Linked DNA regions of Homo sapiens: regions 1 and 2 are each linked to region 3. The links are contacts of gene promoters, found by promoter capture Hi-C in blood cells and fetal thymus (Javierre and others, 2016). All regions are on one chromosome and are shown on one strand. Each heading gives the region's core, a stretch centred on a gene start or on the middle of the fragment in contact. The rest is flanking DNA. Distances are from core to core; before and after follow the strand shown. Region 1 overlaps BRD8 (bromodomain containing 8). Region 2 overlaps KLHL3 (kelch like family member 3). Region 3 holds the start of PKD2L2 (polycystin 2 like 2, transient receptor potential cation channel).

Region 1 (3,556 bases), core at 722-3,221, 260 kb after region 3:
ATGACGGTATTCTAAATTTTACTGATTGCTTACTATAAGCCAGGCACTGTGCTAAGTGCTTTACATGAATTATCTCATTTAAACCTCACAGCAATCCCACAAAATAGGGTGCTATTATTGCATTTCTGCAGAGAAAACTGAAGTTCTAAAATGTTCACTAACATGCTAAAGGTAACACAGCTAAAACTGGTGCTAAATCCAGGATTTGGATCCAGGTAGTTTAACTTTCTGGAGTTAGCCTATGTGCTCTAACTACTCTGTTCTGCTTCCCTAGGCAGAAGACCAACAAGACAGCTGATTTAAGTTACTTTCTTACCTCTTCACTCTCTGTGAGTAGTCCCTGAACTGTACAAATAACTGAGGGAGCTGAAGCCACCTCTGGCTTTCCATTTTCTCCCAGTGGCTTTTCAGCTACTAAGGGGTCTCCTTTAGCTGAAAGCTCTTCAGTCTCTCTGCAGAGCTCCCTTTCTCCTTCGCTAGCTTTAATTTCCCTTCCTTCTTGTCTGGTACCAGATGGAGGGCAGCAGCCTTCACTTGATTCGTTGCTGCTGATGCACAAGGGCTCCATTAAATAAGCTACCTGCAATCAAAGTTTATTATTAGATGCACAGGAACACCACTGAAAATCATCATCCACATATCAACAATGCCACATGCTAACACTGTCACAGTGACTAAGTCTGAGAGGACAAAATGGTTTAATTAATACAATCATCTAAAATCTGCCAAAATATCTTATATACACAGGCACTGGGCTGGTTGGTGGGGACACTACAGTGAACAAGAAAGATATGGTTCTTGCCTCTTCCAGGAGTTTATGTTCTACTTTTTCATCTCAGCTGTCAACTCTGATCAATTGGGAGTGGCTGTCTAGAATAAAGTGTTGAAAATTTTGTCTACCACAGACACTTGTAGAGAGAAGTGGCAACATTTGAAATGGATGCTTGCTGATCTTGATCTAGGGTCTTCTAAATGTGTTCAATAACAGCATACATATAACTCTCTGTCCAATTCTGTTTATTTCTGGTCCTCAGCCCTTAACCAAGGTAATGACACTTAAAAATACTACCTTAAAGTTACAGCATTTTAAGCTTCAAGGAAAATTTGGGCAAGTATAACTTCCCACAACTCCAAAAGCATGAATTACAAGGATACTCATAAAGCAGTCCTTATGACCCAGGCCCCTAATGACTGAAGTATTAGAAATTCAGTCAAAAAGCATGTATTTTTTTATTTTTAATTTTTTTACTTTTGAGACGGAGTCTCGCTCTGTTACCTAGGCTGGAGTCCAATGGCACGATCTCAGCTCACTGCAACTTCCGCCTCCCGGGTTCAAGCGATTCTCCTGCCTCAGCCTCCCAGGTAGCTGGGATTACAGGCACATGCCACCAAGCCCGGCTAATTTTTTAATTTTAATTTTAATTTTAATTAATTTATTTATTTAGAGACAGAGTTTCGCTCTGTCGCCCAGGCTGGAGTGCAATGGTGTGATCTCAGCTCACTGCAACCTCCGCCTCTCAGGTTCAAGTGATTCTCCTGCCTCAGCCTCCCGAGCAGCTGGGATTACAGGCGCCCGCCACCACGCCCGGCTAATTTTTTGTATTTTTAGTAGAGATGGGGTTTCACCATGTTGGCCAGGCTGGTCTTGAACTCCTGACCTCAAGTGATCCGCCCGCCTCGGCCTCCTAAAGTGCTGGGATTACAGGCATGAGCCACTGCGCCCGGCCATTTTTGTATTTTTAGTAGAGATGGGGTTTCACCATGTTGGCCAGGCTGGTCTCGAACTCCCAACCTCAAGTGATCCACTGGCCTCAGCCTCCCAAAGTGCTGGGATTACAGGCGTGAGCCACTGCACCCGGCCCAAAAAGCATGTATTTGGTGCATATTCTGTATCAGCACCAAGTGCTGAGGACATAGCAATGAACTTAATCCCTGCCACTGTGGAGCTTATATTTTAGTAAACAATATTAAGAGTGGTAGAAGCATGTAAGGATAAGCATTCTCTTAGAAAGTTGAGGCTTTTCCAGCTTTGGAAATAAGAGCTCACTGTTACCTCAGAGAGAAAGTGGAGGAGGTTCTGGTGGCTGGCTTTCCTTGCCGCTTCCTGAGATTCCTCACTGCCTCCATCCCCAACAAGCAGTTCACTAGGTTCTCTCTCCGGGCTGCTTTCCTCTAGTTCCTCAGCCTCTGGATCCTCAGTTTCCCTCCAGTTGCCCACATCAAGATCCAGACTGGAGTCCCATGAGCTGAAGAGGGACCTGCAGTCATTGCTCAACTCAGAGTCATTGGGATGATCTTGTTCAGAATCCAGCCAAACCCACTCGTGTCCCATCTGTAAATACACAGGAAAACATGCATTAAATTCATTCAAATAAATATTCCTGAGGCATCTCCATCTCCCGAGTTCAGTAGAAAAATAAGGGGCCAGAAATTTATTTGTATTCAAGTATTCATCATTAGGAAGAATTAAAATCTTGCTGAAGGGAGACATGAGATGAAATTATATTTGTCTTTGGGAATAAAGAAAGCCCCATGTCAGTATAACAGAGATATTGCACCATACAATACAGTATAATAGAGACATTAATATTACCTAATAATTATTTTTACTTGGAATTCCTCATATTCACACCAAAAGAAGGGAAAGAACTGGAGCATAGCTAGCTCAATTATTTTCCTCTAGCCCAAATCATCCATAACTAAACCGTAAGGCAAACAAATTGAGGGGGCAGGGGATATTTTCCTCAGTGTATAAACATTTTTAACCTATGAACCATTAAACCTTCAAAACACACTTTAGGATTGCCTTTGGCATCCTTCTGGTCATATCCAAATTGATGTTGAGAAACATTAAGCTTAAAATATATCTTCCCTTGCTCTCATTACACCACTATCTTGGTTTTTTTATATCTTTCTTTGTCCTCTCCCTTTTACAACTTTCAATAAATCCCTACCTTCTATGTTCATGCTTGGTCCTCTGCTTTCTTATTAATGTATTTTAAAAAAATGTATATATACTTTGAGGTTTCAACTTTGACCTCTATTCAGGTGGCTCCCAAATCTCTCTACCTTTACTTCTTATATGAATTCTGGTGTCATTTCTCCATGCATCCAAAAGTCAATTCCCTTTAGATGCTCTACCACCTGCTGTAACATTTCTAAAATAAAAATCACATTTCCTTTATCTCCAAAATCACTGCTTCTTCCCAATTTCCTTATCCCCATCACCATTTTCTTTTCTTTTCTTTTTTTTTTTTTTTTTTTTTGAACGAACTTTCACTCTTGTTGCCCAGGCTGGAGCACAATGGCCCAATCTCGGCTCACTGCAACCTCTGCTTCCTGGGTTCAAGCAATTCTCCTGCCTCAGCCTCCTGAGTAGCTGAGATTACAGGTGCCCACCACCATGCCCGGCTAATTTTTGTATATTTATAGAGACGGGGTTTCACCATGTTGACTAGGCTGGTCTTGAACTTCTGACCTCAGGGGATCCACCCACCTTTGCCTCCCAAAGTGCTGGGATTACAGGCGTGAGCCACCACACCCGACCCCATCACCA
Region 2 (3,568 bases), core at 43-2,542, 270 kb before region 3:
TTGCTATCCTCGACTACAGCCACCAGCAAGTTGCAAGCTCAGGTTCCCAGACTGCCTGGCAGCTAGATGTGCCACGTGACCCAGTGCTGGCCACTAAGACTGTAAAGGCAAGTGTGCCAGTGTTGCAACGCTGGCTTTGTTCTTGTTGTGACTGGAATGCTCACGCAAGGCCAAGGGGAGGCAGCAGCCCTTGATAAAGCTGGCAGAATAGAAAAGAGAAGAGAAACCTGGTTCTGTCAGTCTGAGCCCCCAGGCCAACCTTGGATTTCTTTCTACTTGAGACAAATACACTCACTTCCTTATTTAGGAAAGTATCTGTCAGGGTTTCTGGTGCCTGTTGCTAAATGAAATCCTAACTTACAGGTGTTTACAGGCAGGATATTACTGCAGCCTTATTTTAACATAGTCCCACAACTATGAAATGTTCTGATTGAAGATGAGATTGAGAGAACATGGCTAAAATCAAGCCAGGATACCCCACTGGAGATATTCTGCTAAGACATCTATTTCCTGTTTATTCCTGGCTAAAGGTGCAGACACAGAAGCTTCAAGGCAGGCAGAACCTGAGTCCAGGTGCCTGGTCTTGACAGCATCTTACTTGAATCTCAGACATCTCTTTCAGAAGGTAGCTTTTTTTTCTTGAAAGCAGGCTCCTGTGTTGCTTTTTCATATAACCTTTATCTTAATAATAAAAGTAATATATTCTCATTATGGGAAATCTGGAAAATGCAGAACACAAAGAAAAAATCTTTAATCCCTTCACACAAAGAAAACCACCACTGTCTTTTTGGAATACTTTCTAGCATCTAACAATAATCACAATCATTTACTGCATGGTGTCTAATGCCAGGCAGGCATTGTGCTTAGCTCTTCACAAGTATTACTGCATTTCATTCTCACAGCACCCTAAAAGGCTTAGTCTAATTTTATTCCCATTTTACAAATAAGACAACAGGGGTTCAGTATGATAGAATACCTGGCCCGGAGACCCAGGGCTAGTGGCAGAGCTGGGATTCAAATTCATATCTGACTCCAATATCCATCTGTAGAAGAAGCAGCAGCTATTCAACCCCCACTCCCACTACCACCAATACAGGACTATATGCGTGAGTTCACAAGGTTCATACAACTTTGCATCCTTTTTTAACCTAACAGGCTATTACAAATGTTTTCTCATAACATTAAAAATCCATAAACTATATAAATATCCCATAGATTATTAGCTATTTCCCTCATGTCAGACATTAAGTAATTCTCAGTTTTTTGCTATTACAAGTAAGGCCCCAATAAATTTGTCCATAAATCTTTGTATTTTGGAGCATTTCCTTAGACTTTAAGATAATAGACTCAGTAAGTGGGTTTGAACATAAAATTGCAGGTTTGCTTGTCTCCTTCCTACCTACTTCTGGAGAGGGCAGACAATGAAGAAAGGGACATGAAATATTCAGCATATATATGAAATTCTAACCACCCACACTTAACTCTTCCCCTCTCATTAAGGCACACATGGAGTCAAGGGAAGATTCCTCACTTGTCTCACTCATCCCAGAACAGAATTACTCCAGGACCAAACTTCTTCTAAAATGTTTTATACTTAGCCAAGAAAAGTATTACAAGGTGAAAAAAACTCTAAAGGAAGAAAAAAGTTAAAGTTCATTACAACAGAAGTCTTATGTTGAAAGAATGTGCTGCAAACTCCTTCAAATTTGCACAGCACAATCTTCCTCTGCAGTCAAACAAGATGGAATGACTGACCTTTATAATGCAAAATGGGAATCGGAAGAATATTCCTGGAGTCGTGGTATGGATTAAAAGAGATAATGACTATAAAATACTTTGGATAATGCCTGGTATGTTCTGTGCATGCTGGATCAATAATGTTATCTCTATTCCAGGTTCTGGAAAACCAGATACAAGGAACTGAACTACACCATGGATATATATTTGCTCATCTCCCCATGGACCCAACCTTAGTAGTACCAACTCTGATGCCACCCCTGCCCCTGCTACTCACCAAACCCCTCACACACACTCCCCAAGAAGCTTCCACACCCGCCTGGTGCCTTACTCTAAGGCTTACCCTGAGCTGGGGTAGCACAAAGGGCATGGACTTAGAACTCTGGGTTTGAACTCTGACTTTGCCATTTATTAGCTGTGTGGCCTTCAGCAAGTTACTTAAACTCTCCAAACCTGTTATATCATCCATAAAATAGACGGATAGAGTCCCATTCAGCCCAAGGGTTGTTGAAAAGATGAGAACAAATGCACACTCTGTTCCTAACACACTGCCCCATGGCACGGGGCCAGCCACGCAGTAAAGGACAGCTATTTGTGTGATTGTGATCCACCCTCAAAGTTTAATTGAGCCTATCTCCTCCAGGAAGGGTTCCCTGGCTTTGCCAGTTCTCACCAGTCTTTCATGTGCTAAAACCTGTCTAGCGTATGTCATTTAGAACTTGTATATGCATCATCTTGTCTTCCCAGTTGTCCAATTCGACCCTGGACAACAACAATCGCATCTTATGCCATCTAGGAGCCTGGCACAAAGTAAACCAGGAATGGCAATGAAATTCTAAAATCACTTGTGACAACTCAGTTCAGTTGGAAGTGGTTCGATGGAATGAATGTTATAAATTCTGAGGCTATCTTCAGGTTCACAGGGTTCGGGCAGGGGCAGGGGTTAATAAGTGCTAATTATCAATATCTGTCATGAGTGCAGAATGAAGGAGTGGTGGCCATGTAACAATTACCTGTCATCCCTGGAGGAGGCACTCAGGCCCAAGTTAAGCAAGCTCACATCCCCTCATCCCACTGGCCCACCCAACCCTCATTCCCCCAGTGTGTTGGAGGCCTCTCGGATGGGCATGGAGATGGCACACACTGACCTGCATAGCTCCGCCCCGTGCTCATGTTCGTTGGAAGCAGCGTCCATTTGTCAGTGACAGGATTGTAGTACTCCACCGAAGCCAAGTTGCAGGATCCATCATCCCCTCCAACCACATACAGGAGCCCATTTACTGCACAGACCCCTGTGAGTCAAACAAAAGCCATGGGAGACATCACAGCAGGTGCACTAAGAGATCAGAATTGATCAAGAGACAAATCTGGATAGCCTGGGAGGCTCTTTTCCTCCCTTCATGGCAATACAACAGAGATTTGGCTCCACAGGTTTGAGTTTGCTAAGTGAAAGAAAATATTGACAACAGCCACTGGGCTCCAAGGATCCTTCTTCCTAACAGGATCATTTCTCTGACCAGGGAGTTTTGATTACTTATAACGTGTATGCCCCCCGCCACACACATACCTATACTATAAGTATGTAGAGCATATGGGCACAGACCCCTCTTTAATGGAAAGGTGTATACAGACCTCCTGTGCCAGGCCTGAGCTAGGGAATAAGACAATTCAGGGGACTTCATGCATGCTACTCCTTCTCTGCTGCTAAGTTTTTCCCTGATAAGCCCTATGTTATATTCACACTGTGTGATGCTGATGGTTATGTCTCTAATCCCTTTACAAGACTGGGTCTACATTCACACACAACTCCCAGGGATGCAGAACAGCTCCT
Region 3 (3,729 bases), core at 1-2,500:
AGCTGCTGGGAGAGGTTGAGCTGGGGATCCCTTAAGATCAGGAGTTTGAGGCCAGACTGGGAAATATAGCGAGACTCCATCTCTAAAAAAAAAAAAATTATGTAAATTTGATTACCTATATATGGGTGTTTTTCCTCTAATAATTTCAATTTCAGATAATCTGTTACTTTAGAAAGCATAATTTTGTGAACAGCTGAGAGTCCCAGTACAGGAAAGCCCAAATCCTTTTGTTAAAACTATTCTAAAGCTTTTTTTCCTCTCGGGCTTCTAGTTCACTGGCTGTCAGCCTTTTGCGAGGCCTCTCCTGTTCCTCTCATCGATGGTAGTTTTTGACCCTCACTACTGTGTGGCCGTTTTGCTTTTTATCTACACATAAAACAGCATTTATCGACAGCAGTCTACATCTCTTTCAGGGAAATAACAAAAGTGGCTTTATCTTTTACTTTCAAAACTGGTTAGTGGTTTTCTTTGCAGGTTTCCCTGGGGCCTTTGGACTGGATTCCATTTTATTTTCCTTTTTATCAACACGAGAATCCGTCCTGGTCTTACATCCTGGAGGGCTTTTGGCTGCCTTAATTTACAGCCAAATTAGTTTGGCCTTTTCTATAGCTGGTTTACCAACCTTCTCATCTTTGCAAAGCTTCTGGGTCAGATGTGGGTCTGGGCCCCAGGACTCCTGTGTCGGCCTGACCTTTCACATAATCACTGCAGAGTTTTTCATCTATTTTTACATCACGGGGGCAGGGGAGTGGAAGCTACTTCCAGCAACAGCTCTCGGTTAATAACCAGTTTCTGCAAGTAGCAGCAGCAGCAGCAGCGTAGGGTCACGGTTAGGAATTTGGGCTTGGGCATCCAAGACTTGGCCCCAACTTCCAGTGAATTACTTCATTTCTCAGCTTCTCGGTTTCTTCAGGCCTAAAATGAGGACAAAAATACCTACCTTTCACGGAGGTGGATGTGGAGACTAACAAGGCGATAAATGTTAAAGGTATTCGAGAGAGAGAAGCCCGTGATAATGAATGACTACGATTTTTAAGCCCACAGCCAGGTTATTCCCAGAAGTTGGCCCTCCGCACCAGACCCCAGCAGCCCGCAGCCCGCCTCGGGCGAAAGGCCTCCCGGGCTCCTGCGGCGCAGCCGCGCTGACGACTTGTCGAGTAGCTCGCCGCCCTGGAGGAGCTGGGGGCTCGCGCAGGCGTCAGAGCCGGGCAGCGCGCGCCGCAAGACTAGCGCGCAAGCGCCGCGGCCTCAGGCGAACGAACGGGCGGTGTAGTGCAGGTCCGCCATGGCTGAGGCGTCACGGTGGCACCGAGGCGGTGAGGGGTCCTCTTAAGGAGTGGGAGGGACAGGGGCGATTTGGCAGTTCCAGACACCCTGAAAGGAACTCTGCGGCCCCAAATTCGTTTGAGAGATGTGACTGCCGACACCTTTAGCCCTCACAGCCTCCCCTGGGGAAGCGGAGAGGGACAGATGGTCCCATTGCACAGACGGGAAAACTGAAGCCCTGAGCGAGGTGGCGCTCGCCTCTTGCCGGAGGCTCGAGCTGGGCGTTGTCACCTGTCGAGTGACCGTCGCTAGGCCGGTCTCTAAAGTCCTTGGTTGATCTGGGGAGTCGTGACCTTGACAGAATTCAAGCCGAGGTGTTTTTCCCCTGTCCAGCAGAAACCAGCCTTCCCAAGAAGCTGTATTGAGGGTGGAGAAAACGGTTAGGACAGATGAGAGGTTTTACTTGTTTCGTATTTTGCTTTTTCATCTTAAGACTGGCGAGAAGACATCATGATATAAAATCTGTTAGTGGCCGGGCGCAGTGGCTCAAGCCTGTAATCCCAACACTTTGGGAGGCCGAGGCGGGCGGATCACAAGGTCAAGAGATCGAGACCATCCTGGCCAACATGGTGAAACCCCATCTCTACTAAAAATACGAAAATTAGCTGGGTGTGGTGGCGCGCGCCTGTAGTCCCAGCTACTCGGGAGGCTGAGGCAGGAGAATCGCTTGAACCGGGGAGGCGGAGGCTGCAGTGAGACGAGATCGCGTCACTGAACTCCAGCCTGGCGACAGAGCTAGACTCCGTCTCAAAAAAAAAATCTGTTATTAATAGTATATAGTAAAAAAATTATCCCTGCCTCGTAAAACTAAGAATTGAAAAATAGCCAGAAGCTATTGGAGCTTTCCTCCCCGCAGTGTAAGGACTAAAAGTGGCTGTGGTTTTTCCATTGTTGTCACTTATAAATTACATAATAATGTAAAGAAAAATTTTGTCTTATATCTCACAGGGGCTTCGAAACATAAGTTGCATTACAGAAAGGAAGTAGAAATTACAACCACACTTCAGGAATTGTTACTCTACTTTATTTTTTTAATAAACCTATGTATATGTAAGTACACAGATATAAAGATGCTGTTTGTTTGAACTAAGAAGTTAAAATGTGGAGATGAAAAATAAAACATACAAACTTCAAAACCACAGGCTGTCAGGCTACTAAAACTCAAAATACAGTGACACGTTTAAACATAATCTTAAATTCATTTAGATTCATTTCATTTAGAAATTGACTATTTTCAGTTCTTAAGGGGCAAAATTTTACATCGCAAATGTAAGAAGCTTCCATAGTCAATACTGACTGAATTAGAATTATTCCTTTCATTTGGCAGTTCTGTCTTGAGCATAATTCATCCCTTGGGTTGGCAACTGCAATTTGATTTTGTTTAGAGTCATATAGACACATCAGCTGAGTTTCATAAATCAAAGTACAAATGAGGCCAAAGTTCATCTTGGTGTCTGCCATTAGCTTGGTTCTTTTCACTGACCTATTGCAGTTAAAAAAATAGTTTGTGCTGAGTCAATGCAAATAATTAAGGAGGACTGGGAAAACATCTCAACCTGCATTCCTCCTACCTGTGGGTCAATAGCATTGGCTTAATATGCAAAGAGGAGTATTAAAGAGCATTTGTCGATGGCACCCAACATAACAGTAGATGAAAGCTCACTGGCAGTATTGTCTCATGTTGGTATGTGCTACACACTGGCAATTGTATAGCAATTAAGTAATTAATTGGTGTTGTAGGGGTGAGTTTGAGTCTGCTCTTGATTGAAAAGACAACTATAAAATTAGCCAGGTGTGGTGGCACACCCCTGTAGTCCTAGCTACTGAGAAGGCTGAGGTGGAGGATTGCTTGAGCACAGGAGGTCGAGGCTGCAGTGAACTGTGATTGCAACGACTGCACTTCAGCCTGGGTGACAGGCTGAGACCCTGTCCCAAGGAAAAAAAAAAAAAAGATAACTGTAGGCAACTTTATAAATTAAGATATCTTAGACTGCTTTATAAAAGCTTGGTTATGAAAACTACATGCTTACTACAGAACATTTGGAAAATGTAAAAATGTAAGTAAAAAGATCATTTATAATCCCATTATTCAGAGATTTTTAAAGAACACTTTTTTTAATATAATACAGCAACCTGAATCTCCATTTATAATGTGATTTTTTTTCTTTTTTTTTTCTTTTTTGAGACAGTCTCGCTCTGTCACCCAGGCTGGAGTACAGTGGCTCACTGCAACCTCCACCTCCTGAGTTCAAGCGATTCTCCTGCCTCAGCCTCCGGAGTAGCTGGGATTACAGGCCTGTGCCACCACGCCCGGCTAATTTTGTATGTTTTTAGTAGAGACAGGGTTTTCACCATGTTGGTCAGTCTGGTCTCGAACTCCTGATCTCAGGTGATCCACCCACC

What was found. The method cuts DNA at HindIII sites, captures the fragments that hold promoters and counts their contacts. A CHiCAGO score of 5 or more calls a contact.
Region 1: a fragment that was not itself captured here is called in contact with the fragment with the promoter of PKD2L2 in region 3 in 3 of 17 cell types (M2 macrophages, M1 macrophages and M0 macrophages); the score reaches 6.4 in M2 macrophages.
Region 2: a fragment that was not itself captured here is called in contact with the fragment with the promoter of PKD2L2 in region 3 in 1 of 17 cell types (M2 macrophages); the score reaches 5.3 in M2 macrophages.

Annotation. Positions count from the first base shown.
Region 1 is chr5:138,150,429-138,153,984 of GRCh38, forward strand. It overlaps BRD8 (bromodomain containing 8), which reads right to left. Exons shown (of 27, transcript NM_139199.2): 21 at 2,054-2,332; 22 at 317-580. Among named protein-coding and RNA genes, the nearest start is that of NME5, 13 kb to the left of the region's middle. The HindIII fragment of the contact is 1,764 bases long and covers 1,090-2,853 here.
Region 2 is chr5:137,622,868-137,626,435 of GRCh38, forward strand. KLHL3 (kelch like family member 3) reads right to left here. Exons shown (of 15, transcript NM_017415.3): 14 at 2,886-3,029. Among named protein-coding and RNA genes, the nearest start is that of MIR874, 23 kb to the right of the region's middle. RefSeq lists an enhancer at 52-101. The HindIII fragment of the contact is 1,498 bases long and covers 544-2,041 here.
Region 3 is chr5:137,888,207-137,891,935 of GRCh38, forward strand. PKD2L2 (polycystin 2 like 2, transient receptor potential cation channel) reads left to right here and starts at 1,251. Exons shown (of 15, transcript NM_001300921.2): 1 at 1,251-1,316; 2 at 2,275-2,376. The coding sequence starts at 1,286. It overlaps PKD2L2-DT (PKD2L2 divergent transcript), which reads right to left and starts at 1,113. Exons shown (of 4, transcript XR_948815.3): 1 at 941-1,113; 2 at 1-82. The HindIII fragment of the contact is 1,963 bases long and covers 639-2,601 here.